Regions from separate parts of the Homo sapiens genome. Here region 2 is linked to region 1. The links are contacts of gene promoters, found by promoter capture Hi-C in human tissues and cell types (Jung and others, 2019). All regions are on one chromosome and are shown on one strand. The core of a region is centred on a gene start or on the middle of the fragment in contact, and the rest is flanking DNA. Distances in the headings are between cores, read along the strand shown. Region 1 holds the start of SPR (sepiapterin reductase). Region 2 has its middle 220 kb from the start of DYSF.

Region 1 (2,829 bases), core at 114-2,613:
CTGTTGGGCCAATGAGATCTTTATCTTCAGTGTGAATAGGTAAGTGAAAAGCAGGGCAACTTCAAATGGTATACACATATACAGAGTCTTATCAGCGTTAAAATACCAAAAGCTTAAAAAACAATTAGCCAGGCGTGGTGGTGCGCACCTGTAATCCTAGCTACTCAGGAGCCTGAGGTGGAAGGATTGCTTGAGCCCAAGAATTCAAGGCTGCAGTAAACTGTGATCACACCTCTGCACTTCAGTTTGGGCCACAGAGCGAGACTCTGTCAAAAAAAAGAAAAAAGAAAAGAAAAAAGCCTTCCTCCAAGTTGTTTCTTCCTTAGAGTTGGCAATAATAGTGGAAAGGCGGTAACTTTGCTGTTTAGCCCCAGGGGAGGGATCAGCCCTGTGGGGAATTGGGCTAAGTTATCAGAGGTTACTTACTGCCCTTGCTAAACTCTAAAGAGATTCGTTTTTTAAAAACTGACACACAATATTTGGACATATGTATATACACAATGGAATACCACTCGGCCACTAAGAAGGAAACCATGAAGAGATTCCTTTTTAATATATGTAGCTGCATGCCAACTTGTCTCACGTTCCTCCTCTCCTAGAAAAAAAAAAATGTGGATTTTTCTGAAGCACCTGCCTGGAGGTACAGACAGATGATTGCGCAAACTTGAAGCTGAAAGTGGATGGAATTGCTGCCAGGGAGACTGTAGCATGAGCAGGAGCAGAATCCTGGGGAACACACTTTTAGGGACAGGAGTCAGAAATCTCAGAGAAGCAGGGGTTACTGGTGGGATCACGGAGCTGCTCAGGGCCTAGTAAAAGGGAAAGGTTTTAATATCATTTGGAGCCACTGTGGTTCTCCCAGAGGAAGCTCCTGTCATCCAGAGAGCGGTGAGCTCCCAAACAAGCAGAGACTTCAATTCCTAAACAGGCATAAGCTTCATTCAGGGTGTTCACTGGCCACGACCAGGGACGCCCAGCACCCAGTGCAGGGCCTGCCCTGGAAGAGGTCAGTAGTGCAAAGTTAGGGCTGGAACTGGGAGGAAATTCGAGCATGCGTCCCAGCCGGAGGCTGAGCTTGCGGGCGAAGAACACGGCAGCGCTGGGAACCGGGCTAGGGCTTTCCGTGTGGGCCGCGCCTGCCGGCCCTCTCTGTTGTCCCACTTGGCACGGACTGGGCTACCGCCACGGTTTGACTTCCGCCACCAGCAACCAAGGGAACCAGATCCCAAGGGAACCAGCACCCCTGGGCGCTCGCGGCCCGAAGCCTGAGGTTCCCGCCCCGCCCCGGCAGGGCGGCCCCGCCGACACCCGTAGCGGTCCCGCCCCCCGCGGCCGCACCGCCTCCTGCCTGGTCTCGGGTGCCAGCGCCGCCGGCGGAGAACAGGAGCATGGAGGGCGGGCTGGGGCGTGCTGTGTGCTTGCTGACCGGGGCCTCCCGCGGCTTCGGCCGGACGCTGGCCCCGCTCCTGGCCTCGCTGCTGTCGCCCGGCTCCGTGCTTGTCCTTAGCGCCCGCAACGACGAGGCACTGCGCCAGCTGGAGGCCGAGCTGGGCGCCGAGCGGTCTGGCCTGCGCGTGGTGCGGGTGCCCGCCGACCTGGGCGCCGAGGCCGGCTTGCAGCAGCTGCTCGGCGCCCTGCGCGAGCTCCCCCGGCCCAAGGGGCTGCAGCGACTGCTGCTTATCAACAACGCGGGTAAGACCCCGGGGCTGGAGCGGACTCCCCATGTGAGCGCCCACTTCCTCCACCGCTGGGGAATTTAAGGGCTACTCCTAGGGGTCAGATAGGACGCCTAGAAATCTAAAGCCCTAGTTGTTCCAGCTTGAGTAGCAAGTGGAGGCGAGGTGTACAGGAAGACTCGGTGCCGTCGGGACAACAGTCTGCCCCCACTTCCTGGAAAATTGGCCAGCCGGGTTTTCCAAAGCGCCTGTAGAACTTTCCCGAGCCCCTTGCTCTGCGCCCTCTGGCGGAGGCCTGAGTCAGGGCTTGGAGTCTCCAAACAAGTAAACTCTCTGCTTCTCCAAAGGACCGCTAGAGCTTTCCTTCAGCCCCACGGCAAGGCAGGTGCCTTCTCATTCTGCAGCTTGGGATGGCTAGGTTCCCCAGCTGTGTCTTTCCGCAGAGCTGGGGAAGAGAGAAGCCTCTTCAGAAGCGCTAGGCAGCTTCCTCCTCTAGGTCTGCATGGGAAGAGGATATCTGGAGGAACTTGGGAGGGCTGGGGAAGAAGAAAGCCCCGCCTGCACTGAGTTACTCCTAAGGGTTGGTTTTTCAGGCTCTCTTGGGGATGTGTCCAAAGGCTTCGTGGACCTGAGTGACTCCACTCAAGTGAACAACTACTGGGCACTGAACTTGACCTCCATGCTCTGCCTGACTTCCAGCGTCCTGAAGGCCTTCCCGGACAGTCCTGGCCTCAACAGAACCGTGGTTAACATCTCGTCCCTCTGTGCCCTGCAACCTTTCAAAGGCTGGGCGCTGTACTGTGCAGGAAAGGCTGCTCGTGATATGCTGTTCCAGGTCCTGGCGCTGGAGGAACCTAATGTGAGGGTGCTGAACTATGCCCCAGGTAGGTGGGAAGTCCTGCCGTCCCTGTCCTCCAGAACCCACTGGTGCGCCTCTGGGGGCTGGGCAAGCGGCCTAGTCCGCCCCCTCCAGGAAACAACCCACAGGATTTTGTCCTTGAATCTTGACCCATCACCCCTTAGGGGAAATACAGACCCAGGGGAAATAGAGGTGGCAGGGGCCGGGGATACTGGTAGAGAGTGAGGAGTTTCCTGGACTGGAGGGTGGGGCAGGAAGGTCTGAGGTATTAGATGGAGTTTGGGAGAAGACTGG
Region 2 (2,747 bases), core at 115-2,614, 1.2 Mb before region 1:
TCTAATAAAATCAGTGTGTTACAGTAGTTTTCTGATAGAAGTAAATTACCTTGAGGAAGGGGCACCTTTTTCTAATTCACACAAGGGCACAATCTAGCCTTGGTGGTTAAATCTGTGGGCGCTCACCCTTCACGACTCAGCTGTGGCTGACAGCACGGACGTTCTCTGCTTCTTGATCAACCTTCTGTCTGTACCCAGCTTCTGTGATACCACAGTCGCCTGGTGGTCCTCCTCTCCCTGTGGCTTGGCGTCCCTCTCTGTTCGTCTGTGATGTTCCCCAGGTCTCTTTCCCTGGCGCTGTTCTCGTATTGTATGGCTCCTAGGCACCCTCACCTGCCCCACTTTCTCTGCCTTCTACAGGTGAATGAACCCGGAATCCCTCACTGTAGCCCAGTTTCTCCCCTCCGCTGCAGGCGCCTTAGTGTACTGCTTACGCACTGGCACTATGAACTCAAACCCTCCCACTCAAAGTCTCCATCCTCCACCCCATTATAAAACTCCTGCTCTATTTTTCCCTCCACCCATCTAGTCCCTGGAGCTGCACTTGTGGGAGGCATCCTTGAGGCCTATCGCCTCTTACTCCTCATATCCAACACATCACCAAATCCCACAAATTCTGCTTCTTGAATCTGAGTCAAGCTACTTCTTTTCCCATTACCACCATCTCCACTTATGATCAGGCCCCTAGCAGGCCAACGTCATTGAAACCCAAATGCTACTGCCTTTGGCCATTCCTCTCTCTCAGATCTTCCCTGCGTGGTTCTCCACTGCCCTCAGGAGGGAGGCCAGCCCTGCTCGCTCTCCCTGCTCACCTCTTGCCTTTCCTTCTGCCGTGCCCATCTCTTGGGTCTCAGCTTGGCCCTTTCCTCCGGGTGTTCCCCCTGTCCTGCCCTGGTGCCTGTCTGCCACACTCAGTCAACGCGGTCCCTCTTCGGTTACAGGGCTTGTTAACACTCCATTGAAACCGGCAGACTTGACTGTCCCACCCCCACCCCTGGAGTCTGCGCCTCCAGGGCTGAAATCACATCTCAATTCTTAATGAGATGTCTGCTTCCTTCACTGAAGGGACTTTACTAAGTGTTTCATTGCAAGTTTTCTTTAAATAGCCAGGCTCTCAGAGCCATTTCAAATAGGGTTTTATGTTCCTAAATTCAGTTAGTTCTCAACATTTGAGACCAATTCTTGCAGCAAGGTGGAGAATAACTCTCATCTGTGAAAGAAAAGCGGTTCAATAAAGCTTGATAAGCCTTTTGTATCCGGAATACTCAGTTCCCTGCCTTTATTTTGTCTGCTGGTGTTTTTGAGAGATTACACACACACACACACCATTTTCTGCTCCTTTTCCAGGGCTGTGTGGATAGTCCAGGATGGGGTGATGTCTGCTGGTGTTTTTGAGAGATTACACACACACACACACCATTTTCTGCTCCTTTTCCAGGGCTGTGTGGATAGTCCAGGATGGGGTGATGGGAGCGTGGACAGACAGAAAGGGCTCTGAGTGTAGCCCCTGCTGTCCAGCCCACAACCCCTCCCCAGTTTGCCTCCACCCCCAGGGAACTCAAACTTGTCTCAATCCTCTCTCCATGTGTTTCATAAATTTAGGATTATGGGATTTCCAGAGGAGCCAGGTGGGCATCCCCTGACTGGGACCCGGTGACAGCCCAGGAAACGTTTCCTGCTTTGGAAAGAGAACTGGGTGAGGGCAAGGGTTCACCCCGACACACGAGGTCCTCACACGGCTGCGAGCTATTGAAATGAGTGACGCCAACCTTCCCCTCTCCCCTTTCCCCATGTGCTTTTGTTCCTCCCTCCAGGGAAAAATAGCTACGGCTCCTATTCCCTGTGGCTTGGCCCAGCATGGCTTGCAGACTCTGTTTCTCTGCCTTTGTTTTGGTCTCGGTTTTTCATGGGGTCGGGGGTGTGTGTGCGACAGAGAGACAGCAGATGAGGCAGATGCAGAGAGAAACAGACTCATGGTGAGGGGCAGAGACAGAATGACAGTGGCAGCCGGGGACAGGAACAAGACCAAGAACCTCACGCAATCGCCGGAGCATTTCCTCCACGTGCTCCTCATCCAGGCAGCTCCGGAGCCACACCATTCTGCTGGCGCCCAGGCTTACCGCTTGCCCCTGCTGGCCGGTTCTCCCTGTTTCCACCACCCGCCTAGCCTGGAGCCTGCCTCTGCTTCATGCTCTTCGGACTCCCTCCTCAGACTCCCACCTCGCATTCCTGTGGGGGATCGGGGCCCCCCTGGGGGGACTTTGTGGAGCCCACTTGTGTCCTCATTGAGCTCAGGTCTAGGTAGGACACTCTTCCCTTTACGTCAACAGAGGTGTTCTGGGATCTTTTCTAAAGGAACTTGACCGAGAACCAAGGGCAAAACAAAAGAGCGAAATACACAAATCACTCACATGTATAAAGGGTAATACATTTTTAAAATACCTGCTGGTGTATTTTGCCTCTTTGTGATCTGTTTTTCCCTCTCCCTCCCCTGGAGCACTTTTACCATCCGGGCTTACTGCCTGTAGAAGAGGACGAGGTCAAAGATGCCTCAGGATACAGAAGACAGAAAGATACCCTGAAACCCCAGGAAAAGTGCCCCTCTCAGCTCTCATTGGAGCCACTGGCCTGGGAGCTCTCCCCCAACCTTGCAGATCCAGATGCAGCTAGGAGGCTCCGTGTGGCAGCAGCACATCAGGGCCAAAGCCTTCTTCAGTCTAAAAAGGGATTCCCAGCCTAACAGATGC

Evidence for each region. Contacts are between HindIII fragments. The study calls those that stand out against the background at their distance.
Region 2: a contact is called between a fragment that was not itself captured here and the fragment with the promoter of SPR in region 1, in 1 of the 25 tissues and cell types used here (heart left ventricle).

What each region holds. Positions count from the first base shown.
Region 1 is chr2:72,886,045-72,888,873 of GRCh38, forward strand. SPR (sepiapterin reductase) reads left to right here and starts at 1,364. Exons shown (of 3, transcript NM_003124.5): 1 at 1,364-1,692; 2 at 2,270-2,560. The coding sequence starts at 1,389. RefSeq lists silencers at 1,216-1,605, 2,244-2,418. The HindIII fragment of the contact is 16,003 bases long and covers 524-2,829 here.
Region 2 is chr2:71,690,192-71,692,938 of GRCh38, forward strand. No RefSeq gene overlaps it. Among named protein-coding and RNA genes, the nearest start is that of DYSF, 220 kb to the left of the region's middle. The HindIII fragment of the contact is 4,339 bases long and covers 1-2,747 here.